3 separate regions of the Homo sapiens genome follow, and regions 1 and 2 are each linked to region 3. The links are contacts of gene promoters, found by promoter capture Hi-C in human tissues and cell types (Jung and others, 2019). All regions are on one chromosome and are shown on one strand. Each heading gives the region's core, a stretch centred on a gene start or on the middle of the fragment in contact. The rest is flanking DNA. Distances are from core to core; before and after follow the strand shown.

The links. The method cuts DNA at HindIII sites, captures the fragments that hold promoters and counts their contacts. A contact is called where the count stands out against the background at its distance.
Region 1: a contact is called between a fragment that was not itself captured here and the fragment with the promoter of CHTF8 in region 3, in 1 of the 25 tissues and cell types used here (dorsolateral prefrontal cortex).
Region 2: a fragment that was not itself captured here is called in contact with the fragment with the promoter of CHTF8 in region 3 in 1 of the 25 tissues and cell types used here (small bowel).

The regions. Positions count from the first base shown.
Region 1 is chr16:68,782,149-68,785,786 of GRCh38, reverse strand. All of the region lies in intron 2 of CDH1 (cadherin 1), which reads right to left. Among named protein-coding and RNA genes, the nearest start is that of CDH1, 47 kb to the right of the region's middle. RefSeq lists cis regulatory regions at 968-980, 1,445 and enhancers at 908-1,052, 1,373-1,517, 2,823-3,012, 3,043-3,162. The HindIII fragment of the contact is 5,111 bases long and covers 1-3,638 here.
Region 2 is chr16:68,822,669-68,826,543 of GRCh38, reverse strand. CDH1 (cadherin 1) reads right to left here. Exons shown (of 16, transcript NM_004360.5): 13 at 2,918-3,145. It also overlaps the pseudogene FTLP14. Among named protein-coding and RNA genes, the nearest start is that of TANGO6, 19 kb to the left of the region's middle. The HindIII fragment of the contact is 3,204 bases long and covers 944-3,875 here.
Region 3 is chr16:69,130,440-69,134,295 of GRCh38, reverse strand. CHTF8 (chromosome transmission fidelity factor 8) reads left to right here and starts at 1,708. Exons shown (of 4, transcript NM_001039690.5): 1 at 1,708-1,812. It overlaps DERPC (DERPC proline and glycine rich nuclear protein), which reads left to right and starts at 1,708. Exons shown (of 3, transcript NM_001002847.4): 1 at 1,708-1,812. UTP4 (UTP4 small subunit processome component) reads right to left here and starts at 1,647. Exons shown (of 17, transcript NM_032830.3): 1 at 1,607-1,647; 2 at 678-838. The coding sequence starts at 836. RefSeq lists silencers at 1,599-1,958, 1,979-2,128. The HindIII fragment of the contact is 4,885 bases long and covers 1-3,856 here.

The DNA of each region.
Region 1 (3,638 bases), core at 518-3,017, 350 kb after region 3:
AGAATTTCCTTACAATGAAATACTATGAACCTATTAAAAAAAAAAAAGCTCTTTATGCTCTGCAGGGGAATGATCGTCAAGACACATTATTGTTTGCTGATAAAAGCAAGTGCAAAGCAGTGCTATCTTTTGTGTAACTAAAAAGAAGGGGATAAGAAATAAGTTTATCCCTGTAATCCCAGCATTTTGGGAGGCTGAGGTGGGAGGATCACTTAAACCCAGGAGTTTGAGTCTGCAGTGAGCCACGACTGCACAACAGCACTCCAGCCTGAGCCACAGAACAAGACTCTGTCTTGGTCAGGCATAGTGGCTCACGCCTATAATCCCAGCACTTTGGGAAGCTGAGGTGGGTGGATCGCTTGAGGTCAGGAGTTGGAGACCAGCCTGGCCAACATGGTAAAACCGTGTCTCTACTAAAAATACAAAACTTAGCTGGGCATGGTAGTGCATGCCTGTAGTCTCAGCTTCTTGGGAGGCTGAGGGAGGAGAATCGCTTGATTCTGGGAGGCAGAGGTTGCAGTGAGCCGAGATCGCGCCACTGTACTCCAGCCTGGGCAACAGAGCAAGACTCCATCTCAAAGAAAAAAAGAACAAGACTCTGTCTCAAAGAATATATGTTCATATTTGTTTATAGTTACATATAGAACTTTAAAAGACACTAACAAGTGAGATTTTAGGTATGGGGGAGGCACCTTATTAGAACAAAGGGAGACAGGGTGGGAGTAGAACTTTTCATTGTATACTTTTTAGATTATTTTTTTTTCAATGGTGTCCATGTGAACATATAACCTATTCATAAAGTTAAAAATAATCCCTTCTTGCAATCACAGTGCAAAAGGCATGAGGGTGAAAGTCATCTGCTAAAATGACCGAACAGGAGGGTAGGAGGGGCCTGCTCCCGCCTCACCCTCCTGAGAAACTGGGATTAGAGACAGGAAACACTGGACCTAGGAACTTATAAGCTGTTAAAAAAAAAAAAAGAATGGAACTGGAGATTAGTATTCTAAGTGAAGTAACTCAGGAATGGAAAACCAAATATTGTATGTTCTCACTCATAAGTGGGAGCTAAGCTATGAGGATCCAAAGGCATAAAAAGATACAATGGACTTTGGGGACTTTGGGGGAAAGGGTGGGAAGGGGGTGAGGGATAAAAGACTACACAGTGTACACAGGTACAGTGTACACTGCTCCAATCATGGGTGCACCAAAATCTCAGAAATCACCACTAAAGAACTTGTTCACATAACCAACACCATGCAGGATGCAGGAGACCAGAGGGAGGGGTCCATGTGGGCGGTGGAAAGGAGGATGACCCACACATGATGGGAGAGGGAAGGGGGTGCTGCCGGCGGATGCTGGTCAGCTGGTCTAGCAAAAAAAAAATGCTGGATGTCAGTTGACCAGAGTCAGATGACCAGATTCTCTCTGGAGAATGTCAGGCAAGACCCCTGCATTTTTTCTGGGTTCGTTTTATCATCTGTAATGCACAGAGGCGGAACTGTACCAGCAAAGATGTGGGGCTCCAAGGCCTTGGACATCATGGCAAGTAGGAATCAGTATGGCTTTTTAAGAGAACATTCTGATCATGTTTATAGATTTTACATGCATAAATCCTTTCTTTCAGCAAAGCCCATTTTTAGGACTTCATCTCACAGAGGGACTCACACATTGCATCAGGGCAGATATACGGAGGGCCACTACAATCTTGTTTATGGTGGCAAAAGATAGACACATCATTGACAGAGGGCTGGATAAATCAATGATGGGCATCCACTCAATGGAAAATGATGCAAAAATTAAAAATCATGAAGGGCTGGGCACGGTGGCTCATGCCTAAATCCCAGCACTTTGGGAGGCCGAGGTGGGTAGATTGCTTGAGGTCAGGAGTTCAGGACCAGCCTGGCCAACATGGTGAAACTCCATCTCTACTAAAAATACAAAAATTAGCCAGGCGTGGTGGTAGGTGCCTGTAGTCCCAGCTACAAGGGAGGCTGAGGCTTGAGAATTGCTTGAACCCGGGAGGTGAGGGTTGCAGTGAGTCCAGATCATGCCACTACACTCCAGCCTGGGTGACAGAGCGAGACTCTATCTCAAAAAAAATAAATAAAATAAAAAGAATGAGGGAGCTGTTTAAAAAAGAATCAAGTAAGTGTATATGTAATAATATGGGAAGAATCTGTCTTTAAAGAGCACACAGCTAAATGGGATAGGGAATAGGCTTAGAATATCTTCAGAAGGAAACAAGAAATCGGTAACACTGCTTGTCTCAGATGAACTGCTGACAGGCAGACACTTTTAGGCTCTTAGGTACCATTTAAATTGGCTTGTGTTTGTTTTCCTATGTTCACATAAACAAACTTTTTTTTCTTTTTTTCTTTTTTCTTTTTTTTTTTTTTTTGAGATACTCTGTCACCTAGGCTGGAGTGCAGTGGCATCATCTTAGCTCACTGCAACCTTCACCTCCTGGGTTCAAGCGATTCTCGTGCCTCAGCCTCCTGAGTAGCTGGGATTACAGGCATGTGCCACCATGCCTGGCTAATTTTTGTATTTTTAGTAGAGACGGGGTTTCGCCATGTTACCCAGGCTGGTCTCGAACTCCTGAGCTCAGGATATCTGCCTGCCTCGGCCTCCCAAAGTGCCAGGATTACAGGAGTGAGCCACCACTCCCGGCCCTTTTTCTTTTCTTTAATGAGAGGGTTGAACCAAAGGAGGGATGGGTGTTCAGTTGACCGTAATCTCAATAGGCAACATGTGATGTGGCTTCCAAAACCAGATTTCAGTTGTGTTTTCAGAAATGAGACACTTAGGATATGGGAGACTATATAGTCCTTCTCTGATTCTATTTGTGGTTTGATAAGTACATTCTCAGGGTTGCAATCTGATGACCTCAATGATAAGTGCTGTTTTTTTTCCAAGAGTCATGCTCTAAGAGGAACACTGACCCATGGAGCTGGTCCAGGGACGGAGGGGCAAGGATGGGAAGGAACCCTGTGTGGGGTGAGGGGCAGGAAACGGGCTCACTGTCAACAATTCTAGGGCTGACTCCTTTGCGAAGGATCGGTCACAATGGCACCAGAGGGTAAGATGTGGGCCAGCGGAGAGAAGAAAGAACAAGATAATCTGACCCTACACAGAACTAGGCTGTAGCCTCCTGAACGCCCCCTCAAAGCACAGGTGGCTTTACCAGGTGCTGCCTCATAGAGCACTAACGGTCAGCGCTTAGGCCTGGAGTCTAGATAGATGTGGACTTGAATGCAAACTGTGCCTCTGACTAGCTGTGTTAACTTCAGGAAAGTTAAACGCTTGAGTCTTAGTTTCCTCTTCAACTACAGAGTGGCCCCCACCTGTCACAGTTGGTGGGAACATTTGAAGAGTTTGTATGTGGTAAGCTGCCGCTCCTGTTCTGCCACAGATGGCTTTTGCAGAACTCGAAACTTCTGCAACTGCCTCTGAGGTCACCCTAAGGAGAGGCAGTGCCCCCAAGGTGGGTGTGCAGGTTCCTGGGACAGGGCAACATCCCCAGGGCCTTCCCTGTAGGGTCAAATCCTGAGGGTGTGGACTGCCTCCCTGTGGCCCCCGTCCACGCCCTCAGGATTGGCCACTCCTGCCTTTGGGTGTGGTGGTCCCTTGCCTGTGGG
Region 2 (3,875 bases), core at 1,296-3,795, 310 kb after region 3:
CAATCCTGCCACCTCAGCCTCCCAAAGTGTTGAGATTATAGATGTGAGCCACCGTGCCCAGCCTCTAGCACATTTGTGCCCTTAAGAAACAAGAAATTGGCCGGAGGAGTGGCTCACACCTGTAATCCCAGCACTTTGGGAGGCCAAGGTGGGAGGATCACTTGAGCTCAAGAGTTTGAGACCAATGTGAGTAACATAGTGAGAACCCATCTCTAATAAAGAAAGAAAAAATAATCATAGAAGTTAAAAATACAAGAAATTGAAATTGAACATCTGAACTCTGGCATTGCCTCTGTTTTAAATGTTGCTCTACATGGGAATCCCCACCCCCAGTGTCTAAAAAAATACATACCCATAGCAAATTTAGGTAATCCTATTTAAAAAAAAAATATTTCAAGTATAACTACAATCTTTAAGATTCCCTGGCTGGGCACAGTGGCTCATGCCTATAATCCCAACACTTTGGAAGGCCAAGGTGGGAGGACTGGTTGAGACCAGGAGTTTGAGACCAGCCTGGGCAACATAAGGAAACACTGTTTCTACAAAAAAATATTAAAAAATTAGCTGGGTGTGGTGGCTCATGCCTGTGGTCCCAGCCACCCAGGGGTCTGAGGTGGGAGGATTGCCTGAGCCCCGGAAGTCAAGGCTGCAGTGACCTGAGATCTGAGATCACTCCACTGCACTCCAGCCGGGCCCACAGAATGAGAACTTGCCTAAAAAAAAAAAAAAAAAAAAAAAAAGATTCCCTTTAGAATGAATGTACTGGTCAGTAACCACTATACCAAAAGCAGACCAGGCCACTGAAATGTAATTTGACTAGGAAGTGGGCAGGCAGGGCTTGTGTTACCCTGCCCAAGGCAATGATGAATTAACCTAATCTCATGGCACAATAAAGCCATGTAAAGCCTGGCAGGATGAAAGTCCAGAAGGCTTGCTCAATTCTCAACAGCACTATCCTTTTCTTCAACTTTGGGAGGACACCAGGAGGGGGCAGAAGCAAATGGGATGCCCAGCAGACATTTCTGGAAGGTTGAAAGGCACCCTCTCCTGGAGTCCACTGAGGCAGCAGCAGCAGGATCAATGGCACCCATGCTCAATCTAAATTGAAAACCCTAGATTTGGTCCCACTGCTCCCTCCAAAATTCTTTTTCCATTCCCACCAGCTTGGCCTGGTCTCTGCTCTTCTAGGAGTCTCCTCAAGCCTCTGCTGTGCTTTGCTAGGAGGGGAACCTTCCTAAATACCCATCTGCCTGTTGGAATTCTACCAGCCCCTGTGGCCTAACCACTTACATCTTCCACAAAACTGTCCTTGAGACTCAATTAACAGCCTTTTCTGACTACCCTGACTACAAAGGCATTCATGAGCTGGACCACCCCTTGCAGTCACTAATTATATATGATCTTTAAACATTTCTTTTAAAAAATTTTTTTTAATAAAAAAATGTATTTTTTATTTTTATTTTGTAGAGACAGTCTTGCTTTGTTGCCCAGGCTGGTGTCAAACTCCTGGCTTCAAGCAATCCTCCCACCCTGGTCTCCCAAAGAGTGAGCCACCATACCAGGTCAAAGGTTTCTAATTGACTTGCTCTCATTTGCTGTGATAATCATTTGCTTGCTCTTCCATCATTCACATGTTTAAAGCCCTACCAGAGTTCTGATGTAGTGCACTCCTCCATATGGATACTTTGTCTTTTGATGCACATAGTCTGTTTTCATCGCTAATTTATTCCTTTAATAGATTCAGTACTTTCTCCCTGTGTGTAAATGATAAAAGTATTTACCTTGACCATAACAGCTCCTGTGTCACCCCTAGGGCTCACTCCAGGTGGGCTCCAATGGAAACAGGTTTAAGGACTATGGCAGAAACTGCCAATTTTCCTCAGCATCCTTTTTCTCCTTTATCCTTTTAGTCATTGACACTCACTGCTCACCCTACACTCCACCCCTACTCCATGTCAATTTTCAATTGTAAGTAGAAGCTTCCAGGTTCCCTTGCAGCTAGATGTGGCTGTGTTTGGGCCAATGGTATATAAGTGGAGGTGATATATGCAACTTCCAGTCGTTTGGCCTCCACTTCCTCTGTTATCCCCTTCCCCAATCTAGGATGGAATGTAGAGGTGGTGGTGGTGAGCTGGCTAGCTTAGACCACGCTGATGAGGGCAGCCCCCAAGGTCTTGCTACTCTGCCTATGGTCTAAGGAACTGCAACATCAGTACCGCCTGGGAGCTGGTTAGAAATGTAGAATCTGGCCGGGTGCGGTGGCTCAAGCCTGTAATCCCAGCACTTTGGGAGGCTGAGGCGGGTGGATCACCTGAGGTCGGGAGTCTGAGACCAGCCTAACCAAAATGGAGAAACACCGTCTCTACTGAAAATACAAAATTAGCTGGGCGTGGTGGCACATGCCCATAGTCCCAGCTACTCAGGAGGCTGAGGCGGGAGAATCGCTTGAACCTGTTAAGCAGAGGGTGCAGTGAGCTGAGATCACACCATTGCACTCCAGCCTCGGCAACAAGAGCGAAACTCCATCTCAAAAAAAAAAAAAAAAAAAAAAGAAATGCAGAATCTGTGGCCCTATGCCAGACCTCCTGGATCAGATTTCCCAGTTCAAAAAGAGGCCCAGATGATTTGTATGCTCTCAAGCTTGGGATGCACTGTCTTGAAGAATGAAAAGAGACAAGGTAGAAGAAACCTGGGTCCCCTGTTGACTTCATGGCCTTCCCATCTTAGACCATTTACCTCTGAAATGTTCAGTAAGAGACAAACTTCTATTTTATGGAGGCTGGCATAACTTGGGAGTCTCTTTCCCACATCAGCTAACCTATATCCTTATTAATATAAGAACAAAAATCATTTCCAGGAAATAAACCTCCTCCATTTTTTTAAGTCAAAGGCTGAGTCACTTGCCAGCTGGACTTACTTAGCAAAGCAAGAATTCCTCCAAGAATCCCCAGAATGGCAGGAATTTGCAATCCTGCTTCGACAGGCTGTGCCTTCCTACAGACGCCAGCGGCCCCTTCACAGTCACACACGCTGACCTCTAAGGTGGTCACTTGGTCTTTATTCTGGTTATCCATGAGCTTGAGATTGATTTTGTAGTCACCCACCTCTAAGGCCATCTTTGGCTTCAAAATGATAGATTCTTGGGCTGGAGAAAGCAATAAAAAGAAATGATGAGACCAGGGGAGGAAAATAAAAAGCTCATTCCAGAATAAAATTGCTAGTGAACTAAAGACACCCGCAAGCCGAGTGAAGAGAGCAGAGCTGCTTGGGTTTTATTTAGGTATGTACTTTTTTTTTTTTTTTTTTGCTGTAAAAAGCTTTATTTCCATTTGGTCTAAGGCTTGGGAGAGGGCTCTAGAGTTGGTTTAAAAAAGCTGCCTAGTGGCTGGAGGGAGAGGCTTAGGCAGAGCGGGGCTCTTCAGATGTCGCTGGGTTCGGTAGGCTCCCGTGTGCCTGAGGGTGAACCTTTTTGCCCAGCCCGGCCTGGAGGCCGGCTGGCCTGTGAAGGTTGGTCAGGTGGTCACCTATCTTCTTGATGAGTTTTACTTTTTCATCTAGGAAGTGGCTCTCCAGGAAGTCACAGATATGGGGGTCTGTGCAGGTGGAACCCAAGGCATGAAGATCCAAAAGGGTCCAGTTCAGGTTCTTCTCCAGGGCCAGAGTGACTTCCATCGCACCCAGGGTTTTACCCCATTCATCTTTACATGGCTTCTGGATGTCCGGGAAGACAGTGCGGCCGCCACACTGGTTTTGCATTTTCAAGGGACACTCAGCGCCCTTGTGCTTCTCCTTGGCCAATTTGTGGAAGAAGTGGTGCACACCTTCCAGATCCACATCGTCATGGTGGAAATAGAAGCCCAGAGAGAAGTAGGTGT
Region 3 (3,856 bases), core at 459-2,958:
TGCTGGGCACTGAATTCACTCATTTGCCCATCTACTCATTTATATCACAGCACCCAGTACATAACAGTCATTCAACATGAACTAAGATGTTGCACCCGAAGAAAATCACTAGTCAGTGCCCTTGGAGGGGAGAAGAAAAAGGACTAATAGACCTCTGCATACACCCAAAGGACATTTTACCTAATTTTAAATCTCCTTTACTCCCAAATGTAGACATGTAGGTCTACATTCTCTCAGACAGATGAACTTTGGAATCCATCTTCCCACATCACCAAAAAGTTTCTGATATTAAAACGTGTTATCATTTTTTCTGAATTGACAATGAAACAGTACTGATACTCCCTGCAGGAAATTTTGCTTACCAAAGCTGCAATGGTGTTGAGACTGATATACCAACAATTTCCCTTCCTGTGTCCAAAAGATCCAGCAAACCTCAGTTTCCAATGACAGGCAGTGAGATGTCACATTTCTAGGTAGGACCCTTCTAATCAACATTACACAGATTGAAACTGAGCTTCTCTTATCAGTTAGGAGATCTCAGAAGTTTGGTAGTTCTAAGCAACTTCAGAGGGGCTAGGAAGTCACTCAATCAGTTTGATTATAAAAGACATACAAGCTTCTTGAACTTCAGAAGAAATTAACATCAAAACACCATATCAGACTCCCAAATGACTTACTTTCTCCTGAAAGTAGTTTGCTGACAAGTTATAAATTTCCACAGTGCCATCTGTTCGTGAAACAGCCAATCTGTTTGACTGGTTATTGTAAGCCACACAGCGGATTCCTGATGGAACATAATTAAAGAAACGTACTCGATGGACCTTAAATTCACCCATTCCTAGGGGGCGAAAAGAGAGTCATTATTGCTATATGTTAACTGCAGTATGTCACATATAGTATTCAGTTCCTTAATATCACTGTTCTGGCTGGAAGGCTCCAACAACATCTCCCTGAAGTTCATTTCCAAATGGCTGCTAACAATGCCCCCCACAAGAATTACTCAATCTTCAAAAGCTCAGAATGGCTTGAATAATAAGGAGGCTTCAGCAAAAAATCAAAAAGGGTCCTACTCCATAGCTCCAGAGTTCCTATCTCGGGGCGCCTAGGAATCCGCATTTTAGCAAGCATCTCTCCTCAACTCTATTGCTAAGTTTGCAAACAACAGACCTAAACTGAGGTAGTGACAGTGAGGCTGATGGGGCAGGCAGAACCGAGCTCCTCTTGAGGAAGAAACGACAGGGTTTGACTTAATCTGGCTGCCTGGTCTGACGTCTGTCACTTACCCTACCCCGTCCCCCCGACGCCCGCCAACATATATACTGGCCGAGAGTAGAGACCAGGTCTTGTTCGCCCCTCACTGGCCTAGCTTCAAGGTTAGGAACCCGCAGACAGAGCAAGCGCGTTCGGTCGGGCCGGGGCGTCTGAGGCGCGCGCGGTCTTCGCCTCCCCTTCCCTCTCCCCGAGTCTACAGAGTAGCCCCCACCCCGCCTCGGGACAAGGAGACCCTCGGGACAAGGAGCTCAGCCGGACGCCGACCCTGGGCCGGCCACCTTGTAAGACCCCCCCAGCTCTCGCAGCCGCTTCCCACGCCCCTTCCCCAACTCACCAGCGGCCCCACGCTCCCCTTCCCGGTGCTCGCCTCTCTCCGCCCCGGCCCCACGTGCGCGCGCGCTCTCAGGCTCTGCCCCGGAAGTGCTCCTGGCGCATAGTCGGAAGTGCGCAGGCAGTGCTCGCGGCGGCGGCGACGGCGGCGGGAGGTTCGGTTGTCGCCCGTTGGCCGCGCGGCGCCGCGCTCGGCGGCCGCCATTGCAGGTCAGGCCGCGGGCGGGGGGCACGGGAGGCTGCGGGGAGCGAGGGCCGAGCCGGGATTGGGGGCGAGGGCGCGAGGGAGCGGGAAGCTAGGGAGCCGGGGCCGGGCGGGGCGCGCGGCTCGGAGAGAAGAATGGCGAGCCGAGGGGCGGGGAGCGCGGGCGGGGGAGGGGTGGCCGGGAAGGGGGAGGGCGGCGGGAGGGCGGCGCGGAGGTGGGGGCAAGCCCGGAGGGGCCTCCGGGGTGGGAGGGCCAGGAGTGTGGGGGAAGGGAGCGGTGTGGAGACGGAAGGCGGAGGGAAGGAAGGGAGCGAGCGGGGCGGAGCGGGAGAAGGGCGGAAAGGGTGGCCGAGCGCGGGCGGAGGACGGAGAAGGGGGCGGCGAGGGCCGGAATCTCGAGGTACGTGCGGGAAGGGGCTCTTCCCGGGGTTGGGAGGGAGCCCAGCCCGCTATGCTTGCGGGAGCGGAGTAGAACTGGAACCTAGGAAGTAGCGGGAAGAGCAGAAAGGGGAGTTCGGGGTGGGGGTTAGGACCGTGAGGTTTTGTTCCAGGTAACATTTGTAATCGTGGAGGGGGGAGGCTTCTGGGAGAGGTAATTGGAAGGGTGGTTGGAGAGTCATTCCAGGTTCTTTTGTGGGAGGGAAGCCGAGAGACGAGTGGGGTGGGGTCCTGGAGGAGTGGAGTACTTGAGAACCGGGAACAATTTGGAGAACGAGGGTGGTAGAGAAAGGACGTTTAAAGAGTAATCTTTGGGAAGAGGGTGAACGGTTTGGAAGACCACTCCAGTGGGTGGTGTGGAGGAAGGCGGTTTAAAGAATAGTTTCCCTGGGAGGCAGGAAAAGGGGTTAAAACAGCTTGTAATTTGGAGGGGGGTGGAGAAGAGGGGGGAAGCGGATTGAGAAGTCCCAGAAAGTGGGTGGGACTAGAAATAGGAAGTGTTTGTAGCTCTAGCAGAAAGGGTGGGAGGGGGCCGAGAGGGAGTGGGTGGAGAAGATGGGGGTGGGTGGGAGGAAGAGCACAGAGGGAGACTCTACGCCGGGCTAGAAAGGAAAGGGTTTGGGGGAGTACAGGGGGCCGTACCATTAAGAGGAGGACAGGCTAAGATGGGGCTGCAGAGTAGCAGAAGATGGAGAAAACTGCAGTAACTCAGATCGACTGAAGCCATCTTTTCCACCCATTGCTACAAATACCAGTAATTGATTCCCTCCAACGTGGGAATCCTAAAATGTGATGGGAAGTATCACGTGTATGCATAGCATCCACACACGTTTTTGAACACACTTCACTAATGTAAAGTTTGGAAGCATTCAATTCCACCAACCCTCCATAAGCCCCTTTTTGGAGGGGAGCAAGATTCTCATTTGGAAACAGGATTTTAGACTTAGTAACATAAGCCTTTCAAGAGACAAGATCCCCTTCAAAAGTATAGACCTGTCCCCTTCAGTTACAAAACCACGATAACACTACAAATAAAAATAATCTGTATTCGGTTGTATGTAAAACGTTCTGAGTTGTTCACTTGGTAGAAAGGCACATAGAGACATAGTCATCATATTTAGAGAAATTACCTTCCAGAACTTAATCCCTGAAGCAGTTTGGTGAACCACAACTGCCATGTTTGAATTCTACTGTTATGAAAACTTGATTTTATTCTGATGACCTGCTGCTTTCGTAGAATGCTTTAGTCCGTTATAAACATTAATATGCTAACACAGTGTAGTATTAAGACATTCTATTTGATGAATACTAAGAAAATGCCACCTTTCTCTGGGAAATCGATAGCTTGACCCTGAAGGCTTACCATGTGTCAGACAATGTGCTAAAAGCTTTACATTCATTACTCGTTCTTGCAACAGCCTTTCAAAATAGGTGTTTATGCCCAGTGTATTGTTAGGAAAACACGTGAGGTTAAACTACCCACTGTCACATATGGGATAGGTGGCAAAATCACAGAATCCAGGTCTGTATGACAAGTGAGTGCTTCACTATATTCGTAAACAAAGTATCCACCCTGGGATCAAAAAACAAAAGCTCAATAAATGCCAACTG